2 separate regions of the Homo sapiens genome follow, and region 2 is linked to region 1. The links are contacts of gene promoters, found by promoter capture Hi-C in human tissues and cell types (Jung and others, 2019). All regions are on one chromosome and are shown on one strand. Each heading gives the region's core, a stretch centred on a gene start or on the middle of the fragment in contact. The rest is flanking DNA. Distances are from core to core; before and after follow the strand shown. Region 1 holds the start of RBFOX1 (RNA binding fox-1 homolog 1). Region 2 has its middle 160 kb from the start of RBFOX1.

What was found. The method cuts DNA at HindIII sites, captures the fragments that hold promoters and counts their contacts. A contact is called where the count stands out against the background at its distance.
Region 2: a contact is called between a fragment that was not itself captured here and the fragment with the promoter of RBFOX1 in region 1, in 2 of the 25 tissues and cell types used here (H1 embryonic stem cells and dorsolateral prefrontal cortex).

Annotation. Positions count from the first base shown.
Region 1 is chr16:6,015,850-6,022,151 of GRCh38, forward strand. It overlaps RBFOX1 (RNA binding fox-1 homolog 1), which reads left to right and starts at 3,175. Exons shown (of 16, transcript NM_018723.4): 1 at 3,175-4,143. The HindIII fragment of the contact is 10,336 bases long and covers 1-6,302 here.
Region 2 is chr16:5,855,241-5,861,686 of GRCh38, forward strand. It overlaps a transcript of RBFOX1 not described here. Among named protein-coding and RNA genes, the nearest start is that of RBFOX1, 160 kb to the right of the region's middle. The HindIII fragment of the contact is 5,009 bases long and covers 1,856-6,446 here.

The DNA.
Region 1 (6,302 bases), core at 1,925-4,424:
ATTTATGTGTCTGCATATGCTATTGGACTGTACGCTTCTCGAGTGCAGAAATTGAGTCTAGTTTATATACTAAATGGTTTACATGGGGGACTAGCCTCAAGAAGGATGCATGTTTGATGACTGAAAGAACAAAGGACTACATAAATGGATGAGCAGGTTGACTTCTCATTTCATTCCAAAGTGGTTAGCCCATTTAGACAGCAATCTACTGCAGGAAAGAAGGAAGGTTCACCTATCATTTATTGAGCTTATTATGTGGCTGGTGCTGTGCATCAGGGAACAAATCTTTGATGTAAAGACCTTTTAGTTTAATAGAAGAGAACAACATTTACAGTAAGCTGAGACAAATGACAGGGTAAAGGTAAATGGAGGTGTTAGAGGAGTTCGCAAGAACACCTTATCTGTGCCTATGGGGGGCTGGGTAGGGAGTTGAGGGATTGGCAGGGAGAAAGTGATATTGAAATGGAGATCTAAAAACTAAACAGAAGCTATCCAGGAAAAGAGAGTATGTAAGGGTATTCCTGGTTGGAGGAACAACATATACAAAAGATTGGATACAACAAGAGAAAAGCCCTCCTGGGTCACAGAGTGAACTTAAAAAGAGCCAGGAGCTGGTAAACCACATGGACAACTTTAGACCTTATCCTGGGGAATAATGAAGAGCTATAGGAAGATCCTAAGTTTTAAAGTAAGATGATGAAATTTACACTTTAGAGAGCTCTCAGCCAAGCACAAGGCTACAAAGTCCTTGTTCTTTTTAAACCAGCTTTATGAAAGGTACCATTTTTGACATTTGCTTAGATCACAAATTGGAAAGTATTTTTCATGTCCAGTAGGAGGAGCCAAAGTCTCCAGGTTCTTTCTAACCATAGCAGGGCGATTCTTGGCCCTAGGTTGTCCTGGGAGCTGTCAACTTCAGCACCTCTCATTTATCTTCCAGTGGCTCAACATGGAGAAATGACAGGAAAAACTCTACTTGGAATGCGAAAGGTCATTGTGAGAAAGAAACTAATACTTTCCAAATGAATAGCATAATGGCATGCCATATTGATCTTTACTCTAATTTTGTTTTAAATTGTAATGGATGCCTCTCACACTCATATTCTTAAGCCATGTAGCAATACAGGTACCAGTGAGTCATGCCTGACACTCATCACTAATCTATCTAAGCCTATTTCTACTCTACAATAAATAAATCAGAGCAGACTCAAGCTGAACTTGATTTTCAGATAGATGAATATGTTTTATTTCCAATGGTAAATATATATATGTATTAAAAATAATCAAAGGGCCCAGCAATTACCCATTTTAATGTAACAACAGCTGATGTTACTGCCTTGAATGATTGCATTCATTTGTTCCTTTCTGGAATAAAAAATGAAGGAGAATAGACAAACAATTCCTGTTGGTGAATTTGCACAAAACAGTATATTCCAACAGAATTTCCCGTTAACTGCCATTTATTTCTTCTATCATTATTGATAATTTGCTTTTAAATTGAGAATACCTCTTTTACAACCCATCTCATCTCCCTGCATGGCTAGACAATTACATTTAAATTCGGCGGTTTTCCCATTGTGAACAGTTTCTGGGGGAAATGATTATGATGTTACCAACCCAGATTTATGGTTTCATTTTGCTATCACTGAAGGATGAGACTAGTATAAAGAAAAAAAAATTGCTTACATACAAATATATTATTATCAAAGAGAATCCTAAGGAAACATATGGTAAAAATCAACCCAAATTGCAAAATCGCTGGGACCAATGATAAAGATATCTTTCTGGATTTTGCAAACTTACTTTTTCAAATGATGATTAAATATTGCGTGCTTTAAAAAGTAATATAGTTATAGGCAGAAGTTCCCTTTCTTTTATTCTGAGGTTGAAAGAAACCGCAGCCCGATAGGATTGCAAGAGGAACCCTTAAGGAATCTGCTCCTTGATGGGCGCTAGGAAATACACGTACATCTAGTACAAAGGAATGCACATCACATGGCCCCCTGTTTTGGAAAGCTTACAGCATTTCTTATAAGAGGATCCATGGTATAAGTGCAAACACAGTCACATCACAGGATGGGAAAATGAACAGGCGCCTCAGATCAAGTGCTCAAGGCTGGAATCTGGCCTTGTCCAATGCCACCTGCCCTTCAGAAGGCAGGGTGGTGCCACATAAAATGAGGTAGACTGCCTGGGGAGTCCTGGTTCCTTGCCAGCTATGTGACCTTGAACAAATTACAACTCACTGAACCTCAGACTGACTTTATTGTACAACAAAACCCCCTGGAATATTTGTGGAAAAAAGAGGAAGGGAGAAAGGAAGGAAGGGAGGAAAGGAGGAAGGAAGAAAGGGAGGGAGGAAGGAAGGGAGGGAGGGAAAGGAAAAGGTAGGGGAAGAGCAGAGTTTCTCACTCCAGTCCAGAGTGGGACCCAGGAAGGGAGAAATATTGCTTTAATCTCTCTAAGCATCTGTGAAATGGATAAACCTCCAGTATCTACTTCCAGTTGTTGAAAAGACTCCATGTAAAGTGCTTAAAACAGCATCTGGTGGAAAGTAAATGCTTATTAAGTGCTAGTGTGTATTAAGGCGTCATGGGGCTTCTGGCTGTAAGACATCTGCTAGGAGGACAATCCCTAGACCCCTTCAGCGTCCATTGCGGGAGTAGGTGGCCAGGAAGGGGGCAGGACAGGAGAGGCCCAGCTGTGCGGGGTGGGGGCGTCCCAGGCCAGCCGCACCCACCCCAGCCCTGCATCCCATCCAGCCTGGAGAACTTTTTGAATCTTGGATAGGGCTCGATCTCTGCCTGGCCGGAAGATTTGAAGACTTGCCAGAAAACTTCCTCAGAGAAGAAATGGACTGGGGCAAGAAGCTGCCTCCACTTGGCGTCTCTAGTGGGGGATTTGTCTACTTTGATTGGGGTTGGGAGGAGGGCGCTGGTGCTCAATGAGTGAGCCCACCTGGGGACTACCAGGACGAGGACGGGCGCAGGTGAAAGTCCTGGGCTCATTGCCCCAGCATCCAACTTTCACCCTCTGTCCCCTTTAGGCCAGGAGACCAGGGTACCGGGTCGCGTGTCCGCCGCCGCCGCCCGCTGGAATCCAGGGCTGCACGCGTGACCGCGGCGGCGGCGGCGCTGGCGAGGGGAAGGGGGAGGGGGCGCTCCCTCGCGCACCAGATTATTTTTGGCTCCGCAGCCGGGGCTGCTCGCTGCTTGTCGCGCGCTCACACACACACAGACACACACGCACACACACACATGCACACATTTTCTCGCGCTCTCTCCGGCTCTCCTTTGTTTATTTTCTAATCTATATTTTTACTGGAAGATTTCCTCTTTATTCTCTCCCGCCCTCCTACAAGCGCTCTTGCTGGCCGTCTGGGTGCACACACCGCTCCCTCGATCACCCCAGCCCCCTTCCTGGTCTCCCGAGCGCGGGGTTTGAAGGTCACCTCCTTTCCAGTCCCCGTGCGAGCCGCGCTGCCGCCGCCTCCTCCAGCCAGAGTCGGTGGGACTGGCTGCGCTGCCCTGAAGTGGTTCTCCAAGCAGCGCGGAGGGTGGCGGACGGCGGACGGAGCCCAGGGGCCGCGTCGGGTGGGGAAACCCGAACTCGCGGAGGGGAATCCCTCCCCCTCCGCCCCAGCCCCCCAGCAGCACCCGCGGTGGGGCGGGGGCGCTCTGCCAGCCCCGGGAACAGCAGAGGCGGCGGCACTGGCTGGACCCACGCGCGCGCCTCCGGGGCTGAAGAAGGAAGGAGTGAGCCGAGCCGAGCACCCCACATCTGGAGGGGACAGCCAGCCGTGGGCCCCGCCCCGGCGTCCGGAGCAGGAGAACTCCGAGCTTCTTGCCCAGGCAGAGAGAGCAGGAGCGGACCGCGCGCCCGGGATTGAGAGTCCTTGCGCTCCAGACCCCCACCCAGTGGCCGCCAGGGTCCCCGCCTGTCCGGACCCTCGCCGCGCCCAGGCAGGCGCGCCAGGGCGGGGCTGACCTGCCCGCGAAGTTGCGGACAGTGCGTGAGAAACCAGCACCCCCTTCCGCCGCCTCCAGCTTATGGTGAGTGTGGCTGGGGGTGCAGAGAGCGCACGGGAATTCGGGGGTCTGGGGCCGAGAACGTGACCGCAGCCGGGCTCGCCGGGAGTTCTAGGTAAGTCCAGGCGGAGTCATTGCCTCTGCACCCACCCTGACCTGGTGGGTCAGGTCCAGAAGGTCTCATGGAGGGAAGCGCTAGGTCCCCGAGAACTGGCCTCCTCCTAGCGCCAGTCTGGGCGCTCTGGACGGGAACTTTTTCAGGGTGTGTGGAAAGATCTCGAGGCGTGTCCCCCCCTACCCCCAGGAGGCCGAGACCCTGAGCCCCCTTGTGCGTCGCTTCCAGAAGCACGTCCTTCCTTGCCCCAGAGCGCCCCTCCGAAGCATCCAGGCTACCTCGTCCGTCCTCCTGGGAGCGAGTCCTAGGTGCCAGGAGCAGCGGGAGCCTGCCTGCGCACTTTGATTAGTCTCCCTGGCCGGCTGCAAGCGTGCACTCAGCGCGCCCCCGGACCGCTGCCTCCGCCCGCAGGGTGTGCAGGAGGAGGCATCTTAGTGACCCGGGAGGGTGTTTAGGTGCCCCGAACCCCTTGTGGGAGGAGGGGAAGAGAAGGCTCACTTATGTGGAGAAAGCGCCGCTGTGTTTACTGGCACTGGAATCGATGCCCCGCGGTGCCACCTCGACCCCAGGGGAGGGGGCCAGCCGGGAAACCTGCGAATGGGAAACTCCTACTGTGCCCCTGGTTCCTGGGAGCCTTAGAGAACCTTCACCCCAGAGAAGGAAACACAGGGGTAGCAGATCTTAGCCCTGTGTTGTTGTGCAGGCCAGGGGGGGGCTTGTCAGCTCCAATCAACCAATTGTCCAGCTATGGAAGCGAGGGCGGGGCTAGTGGGGCGCCGCTCCCATCTCCCCACCGCCCAGGAGGCCACTTGGCTGTGAGCTCCTGGAGCCTCCCTGGCGCCAGCTGCGGGGACCAGGTGTCACGCGGAGCCCGGAAGCTGTCCACTCAGCAAGGGAGGGGAAGACCCCGATCTAACCTTGTCCTGGAGCCCCCAGCTCCATTCCTTGCTGCCAGGGAATGGTCAGGGGGCTGGGAGAGCTCATCGCTCCTGTGTGGGCCAGAGCTGGGGTGCACCTGCTGGCACTGGAACATCTGGGGTGCGGCTACTGAAGAGCTTGGAAATCCTGGTCAGGCAGTCCGGGCAATTGGCACCCCAAAGGCGGATCTTTTCAGTTGAACTTGAAAAGAAGTGGGGGAGTGTGGTGAAATAGCTTTGTTGAGTTGAAACATCATGTCTCCTAACTTGGGTTTTCCTTTATTAGAATAATGATTGTTTATTTTTATTTTTAAACTCCGTTGTGCAGAGAGGCCTGGCCTTGACAGCCCAAGTTTAGGACATGCCCCAGCCTGCCATCCCTTCCCTGCCCCCTGTCCTAGTTCATCTCCCCTCCATTTATCATTTTATCTTTGTTACAAAAGAGAGAAAAAAAAGATGAGAGGGCCTGGATTCTTTCAATTTTTAAGTGACCACAGAGGCCCCGGCTGGAGCTACTGGCAGATTTATTTTTAGCTAAGATCTTTTATGTTCAGAAGCAAAGGACCTGGGGCCTGTGAAGGGTAAAGGTGGTGCTGGCAGTGGCTGTGCTGGTAAAAAGTGGGGCTGACTCAAAACCTGTGTCCTCTTTGAGCTCGTCAGGGAGGCCCTCCGTTTGGAAGAATCCCCTGGGCTTTCCTTAAGTTAGCTTATGGTTGCCTCGGGTTAGGAAGAAAAGTCATCATTCCTCGCGGTAGTGGAAGTGACACCTTAGGGGTCCAGAGAGTGGAGCTTTATGGCTCAGAAGAGCACAGGGCTTCTGGATCCGTTATCTGCCAGCTGTGTGACCTTGGGCAAGTTGCTTTACCTCTCTGAGCTTCGGGTTGTCACCTGTAAAATCAGAGTTTCAGTCGTAGTTCTGTCCTCAGAGGGTTTGGGGGTAAATTACTTAAAGCACTAAACATTTAGAACAGTTTGGCACATGGTAAGTGCCTGAATTCTATGAGTTTTGTTTCTTTATTCTTTCAAGTAGATTCCTCTAATTTTTGAGCCTTGTAGCACCGAGTGGTACAGGAAAGGCAGGTGGCTTGCCTTATACACACACGTTTTCTTTTAAGTAAGGAACAGAAGCCTCAAGCTCTCCCATTCTGCTCTCTGCATGTTCCAAGGAGGATCACGGACAAGCTGCCCACCCACTGGCCAAGATATAGGTTGGTGGCATTTGACTTGCTGTCTTGACAAGCA
Region 2 (6,446 bases), core at 3,110-5,609, 160 kb before region 1:
GTTCATTTTTGCTTTTGTTATCTGTGTTTTTGGTGTTATATTAAAAAATTCACTACGCAGACCAATGTCAAGAAGGTTTTCCACTTTGTTTTCTTTTGGTAACCTTACGGTTCAAGTCTTATGTTTGAGTCTTTAATCCATTTTGAGTAGGTTATTGTATATAGTGTGAAATAAGGATTCAATTATATTCTTTTGCCTGTGGATATCCAGTTTTCCCCATACCATTTATTGAAGAGACTGTTCTTTCCACATTGTGTGTTCTTGGCATTCTTGCTGAAGATCAGTTGACTATAGATGGCTGAATTTATTTCTAGGCTCTCTATTCTGTTCCATTGGTCTTTATGTCTGTTTTTTGCTGCTACTATACTGTTTTGGTTACTGTTCCTTTGTACTGTATTTCGAAATCAGAACATATGTGATGCCTTCAACTTTGTTCTTCTTGCTCAAAATTATTATAGCTATTAGGGGATTTTTGTAGCTCTTTATGAATTTTAGGGTTGTTTTTTCTATTTCTTTGGAATTTCCTTGGAATTTTGATAGGGATCATACTGACTGTAGATCACTTTGGGTTGTATGGATATTTTAACAATATTTATTAATCCTATCCGTGAATATCGGATGTCTTTGCATTTATCTGTCTTAAGTTTCCTTCATCAATATTTTATTAATGTTTGTTAATGTTTAATGTACACGTCTTTCAACTCTTTGGTTAAGTTTATTCCTATGTATGTTATTCTTTTTTTTTTTTTTTTTTTTGCTATCGTCAATAAGATTACTTTCCTAATTTTCTTTCCAGTAGTTCATTCTTTGTGTATAGAAATGTAACTGATTTTTGTATGTGGATTTTGTATCCTGCAAATTTACTGAATTTGTATATTATTTCTAAATTTTTTTCCAGGAGTCTTTATGGTTCTCTCTCTCTCTCTCTCTCTCTCTCTCTCTCTCTCTATATATATATATATATATACATATATATGTATATATATATGTATATATATGTGTATATATATGTATATATATGTATATATATATACACATATATATACACACACACACACACACACACACACATATATATAGGGAAAACTGTTATATTATATATATATATATATAATGTTATGATTTGTGTGTGCTTGGTGAGAACACATAAGATCAACTTCTTCAGAAATATCAAGTATATAGCACAGTATTGTTCATTGTCATCACAAGACTATGCATTAATGAGATCCTCAGAGCTTATCCTACGTAACTGAAATTTTGTGCATTTTGACCAACATCTCTCATTCATATATGTGTATGTGTGTGTGTGTGTGTGTGTGTGTATGTGTGTGTGTGTATATATATATATATATATATATATATATAATCTTAGCCAGATCTTCTGGATAACTTGCTGGAGCTTTAGGACTTGCTGCTTCACCTTGCATTTTTATGTTATAGAGATGGTTTCTTTTCTTAAACCTCATGAGCCAGGCTCTGCTAGCTTCAAGCTTTTCTTCTGCAGCTTCCTACCATTCTCAGCCTTCATAGAATTGAAGAGAGTTAGGGTCTTGCTCTGGGTTGGGCTTTGGCTTAAGGGAATGTTGTGGCTTATTTGATCTTCTATCCAGACCACTGAAACTTTGTCCATATCATCAGCAAGGCTGTTTCACTTTCTTATCATTCCTGTGTTCACTGGAGTAGCAATTTAAATTTCTTTCAGTAACTTTTCTTTTGCATACACAACGTGGATAACTGTTTGGGGGAAGAGGCCTAGCTTTTGGCCTATCTTTGCTTTTGACATGCTTTTCTCACAAAGTTTAATCATTAGTTTTTGATTCAAGGTGAGAAACATGTGACTCTTTCTTTCACTTGAACACTTAAAGGTCATGGTAGGATTATTCACTGACCTGATTTCAGTATTATTGTGTCTCAGAGAATAGGGAGACCTGAGGAGAGAGGGAAAGATGGGGAACAGCTGGTTTGCGAAATAGTCAGAACACACACTACATTTATCAGGTAAACCTCCCATCCTATGGGAGAAGTTCACAGCACTCCAAAACAATTACAATAGCAGTATCAAAGATCACTGATCACAGATAACTGTAACAGATGTAATAATCATGAAAAAATTTTAAATATTGCAGGTATTACCAAAATGTGCCACAGAGACATGAGGTATACACACACTGTTGGGAAAATGGCACTGATAGACTTGCTTGACACAGGGTTGCCGTAAAGCTTTAATTGATTAAAGAGCAAGCAGTGTCTGTGAAGTATAATAAAATGAAGTGCAATAAAATGACCTGGGCCTGTAATAACCTCCCACCTCTGGCTGTGACAGCCAAATATGCCTCCAGACATTGCCAAATCTCCCCAGTACACTGAGTGAATCCCCTGTTGTTAGACAGCTAGGTTGTTACCTATTTTTTCCATTATAGAAAATGTTCCCAGCATTTTGGGAGGCCAAGACGGGCAGAACACTTGAGCCCAGGAGTTCAAGACCAGCCTGGGCAATATAGAGAAACCCTGTCTCTACCAAGGAAAAAAAAAACAAAGAAAAGAACTGCACAAAACTTAGCCAGGCATGGTGGTGAGTGCCTGTAGTCCCAGTTAACTGGGGAGGCTGAGGTGGGAGGATCCCTTGAGCCTGGGAGGCAGCGGTTGCAGTCAGCTGTGTTTGCACTGCCGTACTCCAGCCTGGGTGACAAAGTGAGACCCTGTCTCAAAAAATAAAAAAAGAAATGTTATAAAATATCATTTTGTGCTATAAGCTTTTTGTGGTATTTCCAATATGTAGAAGAGACTTCCACAAGCAGAGGTATGAGGTCAGTGGAAAGGAGGGTTTTTAAGGATCTTTGTCTGTATTTCCACATTGCCAAGCTAAATTTGGCAAGCTAAAGGCTCCCTCTTAGGAGCTTTTCCTAACCTTGCACCTAGCCGCAGAAAGTAACCAGGGGCTCTTTAGAAGGAAACTTAGATGGTGACACCTTACCCCAAAGACAGCAGGTTACAATGGGAAAGGCCCAGAGAGCCTCAGCACCCACTTCTCACACCAACCCAGGCTCCTCCCTTCTTCATAATTAAGCTTCAGATAATGTTTGCAATCTCCCCGTGTTTTCTACCATGTGTCAGGGTGACTGATGGGCTTGTCACAGCTCAGACTCCCTGTAAACCGGCACTGTGACTGCTTTAACCTTCCTTAATAGACCAACTTCAAGGGCAAACCAAGGACAGAGATTTGCCAGGCCCTCCCTGATCAGTCCCTCCCTCCCCTGTGACTTTTTCTTTCCTCTCTTCTGCCTCTTGCTCCTCTCAAAATCGTCTGCAAGATAGACCTAAGGCAGTTGCCGAGCACCATAAGTAAAACTATTCTTAGGTTACAAGCTGCCAGAATTTTCAAGCAAGTGCATGTAAATATTTCATTCCTGACAGTGAGAGTTATTAAGAGAAACCTTGTGCGTTTTCTAGAAGAATTTTAAGAGACATTTATTCATTGGACATGTCTGGAGCCTGCAGAATTTGGTAGGAGATGGGAAGGGAGGTAGGGAGATGAATATCATCCATGAATGGGCTCTTTCCTTTTTTACACTTATGGTTAAAATTTAAGATGAGTCCTGGCGGCTCAGTGGCTGGAACCAAGTCCCAGGCCAGAATAGAAGAGAAAGAGATAGGGAGAGGGGAAGCTGCCTACTTCAGAAATACCCCTTTGGGGCCGGGTCTGGTGGCTCACGCCTGTAATCCCAGCCCTTTGGGAAGTTGAGGTGGGCAGATCACATGAGATCAGGAGTTCAAGCCTGCATGGTGAAACCCCATCTCTACTAAAAATACAGAAATTAGCCAGGCATGATTGTGGGTGCCTGTGGTCCCAGCTACTTGGGAGACTGAGGCATAAGAATTGCTTGAACCTGGGAGGTGGAGGTTACAGTGAGCCGAGATCACGCCACGGCACTCCAGCCTGGGCGACACAGCGAGACTCTGTCTCACAAACAAAAACAAAAACAAAAACAACCCTGTAGGTGGGCTGTTTGCAAGTGGCTCTGTTGAATGTGGTAGGGCTCATAATATCAGATGTTAGGACTTCTGCTACTGTTACAGTGATTACCTTGAACTCACAAAACCACAGCTATCCATTCTCAATCTCCAACTCTAAGCCAGACGTTCCCATTGAATATACATAAAACAGCAAGAAAGATTTTTGTGTCCCTTTTTAAATAAGGAAACTGAGCCTCAGACAGGTAAGGTAACTTTCCCATGGTAGAGTAAGGACGTATAAAGATCAGGCATTTTTGTCCTTACACATTCTACCAGCTGGAGATCAAGTTGAAGGTTCTGAAAATCACTTGCCAGCAAAGGAAGAAAGTTTACAGTGGAAAATCACAAAGAACAGCATAGGTGCCCAGGGTTTTGTGACAGGGAGGATAAAACTCTGCCTACCATTGGCCAGCAACCATGCCAGGCACCTTGAACATATTGTTTTGCTTCTTACAGCAGTCTTATAAAATGCTATTTCCATTTTACAGGTATAAAATTATGGAATCAGAGAGGCTAAGTCACTTGTCATCATCTATGGTCATGTAACAGAATATCCCTAAAACTTAGTAACCGTTTATTATACCTCAAGATACTGTGGGTCAGGAATCTAGGCAGCGCCTGCTGGGCATGAGTTGACTCAGGTTTCTTGGTGAAATTCAGTTGACTGGCACATTGGTCAGGAAGACTGGAAGCCTGGGCTCCCGTGGGACTGATCCCAAAGCACCTAGATGTAGCCTCTGCAACAAGGCTATCTTAGGATAGTCAAAATTCTGACATTTCAGCTGTGGGTGCCCAGAGAGCAGCCCAGTAGACAGTAGTGGACACTGTCAGCATTTCTTTTTTTTTGTGATGGAGTCTCACTCTGTCGCCCAGGCTGGAGTGCAATGGCATGATCTCAACTCACTGCAACCTCCGCCTCCTGGATTCAAGTGACTCTCCTGCCTCAGCCTCCTGAGTAGCTGGGATTACAGACGCATGCCACCATGCCAAGCTAATTTTTGTATTTTTAGCAGAGAAGGGGTCTCACCATGTTGGTCAGGCTGGTCAGGAGACCTCGTGATCCACCCGCCTCCACCTCCCAAAGTGCTGGGATTACAGACGTGAGCCACCGCGCCTGGCCTACTTCACCACTTTTTGACAATAGGACTATAAGGTTTTCTGTTTGTGCCTGTGAAAACAGTCTAGAGATTCAAATTGGTTCAAGAAAAGAGTTGACTCAGTTTGTTTAAGAACTCACAACCTGTTGCTTGCTCCCATTTGTCAAGGTGGCTGTGTAGAGGAGAAGGGGAATGCAGTGTTTCCTGTTATCCCCAAATGGATCATTAGGACGCAAAGTTGCCTGCAGAGATAAGCTATGCATGATAAGTTCCAAAATAGTGAGGTCCAGATACCTCCCCAGGGCTAAAAGAGGACAAGGCAATTGTGCTATTTCTAGTGTCCACTAGTCTATATAAGCAGAAGATCAGAGAGGATTCAAGAAGAGAGAGAAGAATGAGTCATGGGTCAACGTCCTTCTCCACAACATCATGAAAAAAGCCAAGCTCCAGGGCTCCTCTTGTAGATACTGGGAGGCCAGCAAAAAGAGGCCCTGATCTACTCACGCAGCATCTTTGATGGTCGTTCTTCTGGGCTTATTTGTGCAGGTGGAGATAAAAAGGAATGGAGGAGAGAGAAAGCTTCATTCTCTGCTTTGCTCTCGCTTTTTGTGGCTAGGTGAGGACCTGAGTTTCCTGAAGGCTAAAGGGATACCAAAGAGAAACTGGGTTTGAGCTTTGTGGCTGGTGTACCAGAGAGAACCAGCTGCAAGGTGAACAATCTCAGTGTCAAGAGATGGAGTCACACTGCCAGCATTCTATCACCAGGAGAGTTTGGGAGAGGTTGAGCAGAAGTGGATTTCCTATCATGGAACCATGTAGGAGGATCTTGTACAAAGTAGTGCTTCAGTGGGGATGTGTGGGCAGCCAGCTGGGTCTGTTCACCAGAACCATCTTCTCCCCTTTGATACACGGTTGGCTACATGCTTACACCCCCGTGCCACACAGGTGACTATGTGACTGAGCTCTAGACAATTGAATGTGAGCTGGAATGATGCATGCTGCTTCTGGGTGTGGTCTCTAAAAACCACTACTCATTCTCCTCCTGTCAGATTGGGACAAAGATGATGATGGTGGCTTTGGAAGTCACATCTTAAGCGTAGCAGAGCCTCTTTCACTCTGATTTTCTGAATATTCACGTGGAAGAGATCTGTTATTCAATTTGCTCTCCCACCTGGGACTCCTACATGAGAAAGGAATGAATGTCCATTGTGTTGGGCTGTTATGCATTTGGTTCTATTTGCAACTGTAGCTTAGATATCCTTGACGAACATAAGCAGCCTTCACCCATAGGACTCCCCCTAATCCACCCATGCCCCATGACGGTGCCAGCATTTG